Linked DNA regions of Homo sapiens: all the other regions are linked to region 1. The links are contacts of gene promoters, found by promoter capture Hi-C in blood cells and fetal thymus (Javierre and others, 2016). All regions are on one chromosome and are shown on one strand. The core of a region is centred on a gene start or on the middle of the fragment in contact, and the rest is flanking DNA. Distances in the headings are between cores, read along the strand shown.

Evidence for each region. The method cuts DNA at HindIII sites, captures the fragments that hold promoters and counts their contacts. A CHiCAGO score of 5 or more calls a contact.
Region 2: a fragment that was not itself captured here is called in contact with the fragment with the promoter of ING3 in region 1 in 1 of 17 cell types (non-activated CD4 T cells); the score reaches 6.9 in non-activated CD4 T cells.
Region 3: a fragment that was not itself captured here is called in contact with the fragment with the promoter of ING3 in region 1 in 1 of 17 cell types (non-activated CD4 T cells); the score reaches 10.0 in non-activated CD4 T cells.

The regions. Positions count from the first base shown.
Region 1 is chr7:120,949,317-120,952,103 of GRCh38, forward strand. ING3 (inhibitor of growth family member 3) reads left to right here and starts at 1,461. Exons shown (of 12, transcript NM_019071.3): 1 at 1,461-1,608; 2 at 1,848-1,919. The coding sequence starts at 1,581. RefSeq lists an enhancer at 2,004-2,083. The HindIII fragment of the contact is 9,487 bases long and covers 1-2,787 here.
Region 2 is chr7:116,863,333-116,866,119 of GRCh38, forward strand. The region is part of intron 1 of CAPZA2 (capping actin protein of muscle Z-line subunit alpha 2); the gene reads left to right. Among named protein-coding and RNA genes, the nearest start is that of CAPZA2, 2.1 kb to the left of the region's middle. The HindIII fragment of the contact is 699 bases long and covers 1,047-1,745 here.
Region 3 is chr7:124,930,771-124,933,557 of GRCh38, forward strand. All of the region lies in intron 1 of POT1-AS1 (POT1 antisense RNA 1), which reads left to right. Among named protein-coding and RNA genes, the nearest start is that of POT1-AS1, 2.3 kb to the left of the region's middle. The HindIII fragment of the contact is 1,723 bases long and covers 511-2,233 here.

The sequences.
Region 1 (2,787 bases), core at 211-2,710:
CCTGAAATTCAGGAATCCCCTCAAATCCTAAGCATAATTTTAAAATTTTAAGGAAAGAAAAGGGAATAAGGAAGGAATTCAGACTTAGATCACTACAAAACTGCAAAAAGATGTCAAAGAGATGTTAAAAGCAGCCAGAAGAAGGAAGGATGGGAAACGAAGAAAGGAGGAAAAAAAGAAGGGAGAAAAAGATCGAAAGTACTTGATTTTCGATGGAAGTAATGAAAAACTTAACTAGAAACTATAAAATTCTAATTCTTATTAGGATCGAAGTAAGGTTCCGTTGAGATTCATCATGATTCATCATTCACGACAGGAAAGTTTCCTGCTTAAGAGCAGTGAAAACCTTGAGTACAAGAGTATGTAATGGAGAAGGAAAGCAAGAAACACACACACACAGTTTCAACTGCAATTTGAAAAACAGAAAATGAACAATAAATTATGAACTAATGACAATTTCCCCAGAAAATCGAAAAGTTAAGAAGAGTGGAAAATAACAATATCTAGCATTTATTGAGTGCAAGAGTTTTTAATAAAAAACAATTTAAAAAGAAACTGAGTAGGGACGTACTAAATATATCACAGGAAAACATTTGCTGGGAGAGGTCGAAAAGTAGAAACTAAAGAACGCCGAAGACAACCAACCTCGAATATGGACTATTTACTCAACATAAAGTTACTGCTATTAACAGCCTATTAGAAATCAAGGCTGCATCCGTAATTCATGGCTGCTCACTGTGATGATGAAGATTATTATTATTATTATTTGCGGATGCAGATTGTATGTATAGATCAATTACATTAGAATGACGATTAGATGGACCGCAAACTAGAATATATAAGTGGCTACTGACACTATTTGTGCATCTTTTAATCTGGGAAATGTATATTCACTCCATAGTCTCAGTATAAACTATTTTAAAATTACACGTAAGCCAACCAGGTGTCTCTTTTATATTTTAGAGTGAATAATGAGGATAAATTCCAGTAGAGAGTTCTATTTTAAGCAATCCAAATTCCCCGAACTTTGCTGATTATTCTAGTGTTTAGAACCTTTGCTATTTGCCTGGCACTTCTTGAAACCCATAACTCACAAACGCCGGGGCATGGAATCACATCAAAGAACAGGTGAAAAGTTGTTCCTAGTTGTGTTATGCAGGTGCATACAACTCCCGCCATTCTCTGTGCAAAAATCAACAAATAAACAGAGGCACCGCATTTCGGATTCTGTTACGCACTGTTTGCAATGGCGCCCGGTATTCGTAGTTTCTGCGAGGGGAGCCGCCAGCGCGCCAACCCTCGCTGAGGAGGAAGAAAACTACATTTCCCACAGAGGCACGGGGGCGAACACCGGCCGGGCTACGTCATTGCTTGAACCAACCAATAGCAGCTCCGGGCGGCAGTGAGGCAAGCGCCTCAGGCGCCAAAGTGGTTTTTTTTTTTTTCTTTTTTTTTTTTTGCCGGAGTCGAGCGGGTGCTGCTAGCGGAGGCGCCATATTGGAGGGGACAAAACTCCGGCGACAGCGAGTGACACAAATAAACCCCTGGACCCCCTTGTTCCCTCAGCTCTAAGGGCCGCGATGTTGTACCTAGAAGACTATCTGGAAAGTGAGTGCGCGGCGCTGGCGGCGGCCGCCAGTGGGACGTGCGGGCGGGCAAGAGCGCGAGTGGACGGGCAGCGAGATGGCGGGAGGGAGGGGGCGGCGGGGGATGTTTCTTTCTCACGGTAACTGGCAGCCTCGTTGTGGGCTGCCGGCCCCCTCGACCCCCCTGACGCACGCGCGCAGTGACGTAAGCGCGTATTTCGCCGTTGGCCCCGCCCCTCTGACGGACTCTCCCTTTGACAGTGATTGAGCAGCTTCCTATGGATCTGCGGGACCGCTTCACGGAAATGCGCGAGATGGACCTGCAGGTGCAGAGTAAGTCGGCGCGTCTACTACTCCTGTTCGCTGCGCGCGTTCAGTGCCAGACTTGCTTGTCATCACTGCTAGCGCCTAGTGCTCTTTCACTGTCCTCTGGCTCACTCCGCTAGTGCATAAGGAGTTGTCAAAAAGAACTGGCAGCCCTGAATCTCGCCTTCCCCTTCCCTCCCATGCTACTTTTTTCTGGCTTTTGCAAGAGCAGGAGGCATTGGGACACGTGTATTCCTTTCTAGAATGTGGGATTGTGCAAAAAATATTTCTCTACCGTCATTGACATAGTTATCTATGTTTCAATGGACGTCAGCATAATAAATGTTGAGATGTCGTCTTGAGCCTTTTCGTATCGAACTTAGATTTCAGCATTTATACTTATTTTAAAGTTCATCCTATTCACAGTTTTTCAAGAGTGGAAAGCACAGAAGCAGAGGTTATATATAGCTCTTTAGAGACCATGGCAAATGTCAAATTTTGAAAACTTAGTTACACATTAGATACATTTTAAATTGTAACAGAATCGTCATTTTCTTGGTTAAAATGAGTGACAGAAATTAGATTTCACTGTAAAGTTTCTTATGTGCTGTACTAAAAATTTTAGCAGTTAATGAACATTTCTTTTTCTTTCAGTGATAGCTTGGTAGTCTCTAGGACTTTTTCCCCAAATTAACTTTGCTCTTTCATAGAGCAACGACTATAAATAGGTGGCTCAGGGACCACCTGCTGCAGCTAAGAACCTGTCCTTTTCACTGCTCCTGGCTTCTCTGCCCATGACCACACACCCACTTCTATACCCTTTGCTTATGAGTATATTTTTCCGGTAAGTTTCAGGTGGCACATAATAAAAAGTGGTGGCATGGAAGCCACTTTC
Region 2 (2,787 bases), core at 146-2,645, 4.1 Mb before region 1:
GACCCCCTCCCCATAGTTGTTTTCTGCCCACGTTGGCAGCAGCCCCCCCCCGGGGGTCGATTTGGTGGCACCTCACTTTCCTGCTAGGACTTCTTCCGAAGAGGGGAAAATGTGCAACTCCTTTTACTGTATATTAGATGCTGTGACAGCAATGGAACCAGATGAACGACTTAAGTTCTCAGATATTTAAAACGAGTAATGGAATAATTCATTGAACTGCTGCTCTCTTAATTCGCCCCTTTCGTTTGGCTTTTGGGAACGTCCCATTCCCGAGGGTGGTGGGGTAGGGGAGAACCCTGCTAATTTTGACTGTTTCTCGGAAAGGACCCTTAGAAGTAACTGACAGAACATAGGAATGAGTTAGTTGCAGGGTTGGAAATGTCCACTCTTCGTTAAAGAGTGCTTCATTTTTAAATTTCAAAGCCAGTGCAGGAAAATACAGGTACATTTAGGTATGTTGTGGTGTTTAAGAAATCTTCATGTAAGTCTGAGGATATTTTCATTTAGGACCCTCTGCTCTAGATGTTTTTATATGCTGTGTTCTTGCACCGAAATAGAAGGTTCTGTCCCATTCCCAATGTGAATGGTCAGAAGTCAGCCTCATCTTTATTTTCGGAAATCTTTTTTTCTCTTGTGTTCTTCGGTGAAAGTGATAATACAACAACAAAATGGGGGCGAGCAACGTCTCCATAGCCCACAGACCCAGTAGGCAGATCCCCGTATCCACAAAAGTTGCTGTACAGTATTCAATGTATAATCTTGATAAATAATCCTATTTTATTTAGGTGACTGAAAGTGTACAGGAGTGCACAAACATATTTAAAATTGAGGCGTGCTAAAAAGCTTAAAAAGAGATTGTCGTGTTTTTATTCTACCATTCTTAAGTGATGATTAGTAGCTCAAGTGGCTAGAAATCTAGCTGAAGAGAGACTACTCGGTGTGGGAGTTAATATAGACCTGCCATGTGTTGTAAAGGCCTAAAATAAAAAAGTTTTTTAAAAATGAGATAACAAGATGCCTTATTATCTGGCACTCTCAGGGCACTAAGCTTCATAAAGAGGAATGAGGAGGTTGTGTGTCTTAAAGCCTGTGCCGCCTAGTAGCAAAATGTTTTATGGTTAAATGAATGAAAATTCTAATTTGATTTTTGATGTTTTGTAAGAATATTATGTAGATATTTTACATATAAATTTTATCACTATATTTACTAATTTAAAAACTGACAAAACCTTTAGGTTAAATTCAAGTAACCAGTAAAGTGAAATTTTAACGTTCTTGTCACTTGAGATATCTAAAGGTTATTTTCATTTTGGGGGAGGAGGATGTGTCCAGTATGGGATCAGAAAACAGAGAGGACTTAAAAGTGATATTTTAATATTACTCGTTCTACTGCCTTATTGGTAATTTTCAAAAATAAGCTCTTAAGCTGGGCACGGTGGTTTGCACCTGTAATGCCAACTACTCTGGATGCCAAGGTGTGGAGGATCGCTTGAGCCCAGGAGTTGTAGACCAGCCTGGTAACATAGCGAGACCTCATCTCTAAAAAAAAATATTAAGTTTTGAATACTTTTAAGTTTTTGAAATTTCCATTCTAGATTGCAAATTTAAGGAAGAGAAGCTGTTAAGATGTGTCTAGTACCATACTTTATATATGCTTGGCTCAGTTAGATACATTCATTACTTAATTTGTTGTTGTAAGAGGTAGTTCTATTACCATTTCACAGATGAGTAGAGTGAGGTTCAAAAGCTTTAAGTAGTTCACCCAAGGACGGTCAAGATGAAGGTAGTATTTAAAGTTTGTCTTAGTCCAACGTTGATGTTCTTGTGACATTATGCGCTCTCTTCTTTTTTTTTTTTTTTTTTTTTTTTTTGATACAGAGTCCCACTCTGTCACGCAGGCTGGAGTGCAGTGGTGCAATCTTGGCTCACTGCAACCTCTGCCTCCGGGGCTGAAGCGATTCTTCTGCCTCAGCCTCCCGAGTAGCTGGGATAACTGGCACATGCCACCATGCCCAGCTAATTTTTGTATTTTTAGTAGAGACGGGGTTTCGCTATGTTGCCCAGGCTGGTCTTGAACTCCTGACCTCAGGTGATCCACCCCCCTCGGCCTCCCAAAGTGCTGGGATTACAGGCGTGAGCCACCATGCCCAGCAGACATTATGCTTTCTTAAACAAAATTGATAAGAACCTCTTCTGGTTTTGTCTCTTCATTTTTAATTTGTTGACAGCTTATTTTGAAAAAGGAGAAACGTTGATTCTTCCTTAGACAGGGTCTCACTCTGTCCACCCAGGCTGGAGTGCAGTGGTGATCATGGCTCACTGCAGCCTCAACTTCCTGGGCTCAAGCAGTCCTCTCACCTCAGTCTCCCCAAGTAGCTGGGAGTACAGGCAGGTGTGCCAGGACACCCAGCAAATTTAAAAAAATTTTTTGTAGAGACAAGGTCTCACGATGTTGTCCAGGGTGGTCTCACACTCCTGGCTCAAACGATCCTCCCACTTGGGCATCCTAAAGTGCTGGGATTACGGGCATGAGCCATGATTCCTAGCCCTTTTTTAAAAAGTAATACCAAGCAAATAGTGTTAGGTTCTAAATTTTTGTCTTGATGATTTTAGAATAAAGCTTATTATTAACACATTTAAAGGTGTTATGTTACTGATAGGAAGCATTTTAGAAATCAATCTAGAATAATAGTTTTGTTTTTTAAAATCATACACAATTGCTTTTTGAGGATACTACTATGAAGTTTAATAACCTTTTCTCCTTTGGCCACTGGGTGAATGGGAAAT
Region 3 (2,787 bases), core at 122-2,621, 4.0 Mb after region 1:
AGCAATTCTTCTGCCTCAGCCTCCCTAGTAGCTGGGATTACAGGCGCAGGCCACCATGCCTGGCTAATTTTTGTATTTGTTTAGTAGAGACGGGGTTTCCCATTTTGGCCAGGCTGGTCTCGAACTCCTGACCTTGTGATCCGCCCACCTTGGCCTCCCAAAGTGCTGGGATTACAGACATGAGCCACTGTGCCCAGCCAGCTATGTTTGAAGTGCCTTTTTAATCAACAGGAAGCATTCAGTATTAGCCCATCTCCTGTTTCCCCTCCCCATCCCTGTAGTTATATCCCACGCAGAAGCCGGGGTGACAAGTGCATGAACTCAGGAGCTGTCCATTTGAGGAAAACTATAGGGAAGGTTTAGATGCTATCCTCCTTCCATCTCTGGCTGCATCCGGCTGAGAAATACTATTCCTCCTTTTTATGTGAAGCCCTCCACATGGGCTTTGGACCCTGACCAATTTCATCTCCCTTCCATCATCATCAATATATTTTCTCTTAATGTATTTTAAGCTTTCCTTCTTTTATTCATTCTTTCCCGTCACCATTTAAACACATTCTCCCAGGCTCTTGCTCTGTCGCCCAGGCTGAAGTGCAGTGGCGAGATCATAGCTCGCTGCAGCCTGGAACTCCTGGGCTCAAGCTATCCTCTGGCCTCAGCCTTCTAAGTAGCTGGGACTACAGGCACAGGCCACCACACCCGGCTAATTTTTTAAAAAAATTTTGTGGAGACGAGTTCTCACTATGTTGCCCAGTCAGTCTCACACTCCTCTGTGGGTACTAAATATTTGTTGAATGAACAAATGCTGAGGAAAACTGTTTATCTTACTTCTGACTTCCACCCCTCCATCCCACCCCTGCCCCCCACCACCCCATTACACTTAAACTGCCCTTAGAAAAACCACTGAAGAACTCTTTATTGCTAACCCAAAAGGACATTTTTAGTCTCATATTTTTGAAAACATTCTTTGTGCTACAACATGGTCCTAGTTTTCCTCTTACCTTCTACCAACTGAATCTTTTAAAATTTCTCATAATCTGTTTAGCCTGTAAGTATCCATGTTCTGTAGAATGTGATGAAGATGTCTAATAGAGGTATACGTAAGTCCTTTTATTTTGTTAAAGTGGTTGTTCTCAGTTCCTGTGGGACACAACACTTCCTACACGTTCAAGTAACTTCCAATCTTATTTCTTCTGCATAATCTCCCAATTAGTGGCAGAGGCTCCAGAGCCTGTAATGCTTTCCCTCACATTAGCAATTAATTTCCACAAATGAAGAAAATTGCTCATGAATATACAGTACAATTTAAGATAATAAGAGAGGAAAAAAAGAGATTGAATCAACTGAATAAGGCAATGAAGACATATTAATGCCAAAACAATCCATTACTATTGTTCTATGCCTGTTGAAGCAGCATAAAAAAGCTACTCTAAGGCTAACAATTAATGTAATTGTTATTAGAAGTTATGACTTTTAAAGGTTCAATGAAAAAAGTTTTTATATAAAATCTGCAATGTAAAAATGTTCATTTTAAGAAAAGTTAAAATTAAATTTTCATTAATAAATAATGAAGACTAAAAGCAAAATGGGTAATTTTTAAGTGATGTATAAATATAAGGATTCAGTATAGTTATCATAAATAAATCAAACGTGAAAGAAATTAGTCTGCAAATTTCTGACACATCTTCCCTCTCATAGCATTTTCATATTATCCTTTACTATTTACTTGTTAATGTCTACATGTAAAATTGAATTGCCTAACATGTCCAGCACTTCAAATTCATTTCCTTTGCATTAATTGTGGGGTGATTAACCCATTCCTGTTTGCAGTCCATCTGTCCTGCAAGCTGTTATCATCAGGTTGCATCTCTAGAGCCTGACAATATCATCTTCTTACTCCTGAGATTTTCTAGGAATAATAGCTAGGCTACATTAGTTGGAGTTCATTTCCTTGTGTCTAATATTCTTTCTGCCCAATCCTAATGAACATCTAAATGGATTTGTAAAATCCTATTTCAATAAAGCATCAAATTTTTATATTGTTATGTAGCTGAGCCAGGAGATAAATCAAACATAATTTTTTCTCAAATGTATGTTTAAGTTACAAATTTAAATGGTAAAGCATGTAATCACTCAGTGCATACTAGGAAGCAAAATAAAGATATTTTTAAAACATAATATTAGGTACCACAAATTGAGAAAACATTATTATCCATTGAAGAGGTCTCTCAAAAGCTTTTGTACTTTAATAATAAATCTTTTTAATTTATTATTTAAAATATCCTAGGCCAGGCACAGTGGCTCACACCTGTAATCCCAGCACTTTGGGACGCCGAACCAGGCAGATCACAAGATCAGGAGTTCGAGACCAACCTGGCCAACATAGTGAAAACCTGTCTCTACAGAAAATACAAAAAATTAGCCAGGTGTGGTGGCGGGCACCTGTAATCCCAGCTACTCGGGAGGCTGAGACAGGACAATCACTTGAACCCAGGAGGTGGAGGTTGCAGTGAGCTGAGATCACACCATTGCACTCCAGCCCGGGAAACAGTGCGAGACTCCGTCTCAAAAAAAAAAAAAAAAAATCCTCATCAGTTAAAAAATTGTCTTTCCTTCAGTTGCTACTCATTTTAAGAATTGTTGGGCCAGGTATGGTGGCTCTCGCCTATAATCCCAGCACTTTGGGAGACCGAGGCGGGTGGATTACCTGAGGTCAGGAGTTCAAGACCAGCCTGGCCAACATGGTGAATCCCCATCTCTACTAAAAATACGAAAAAAATTAGCTGG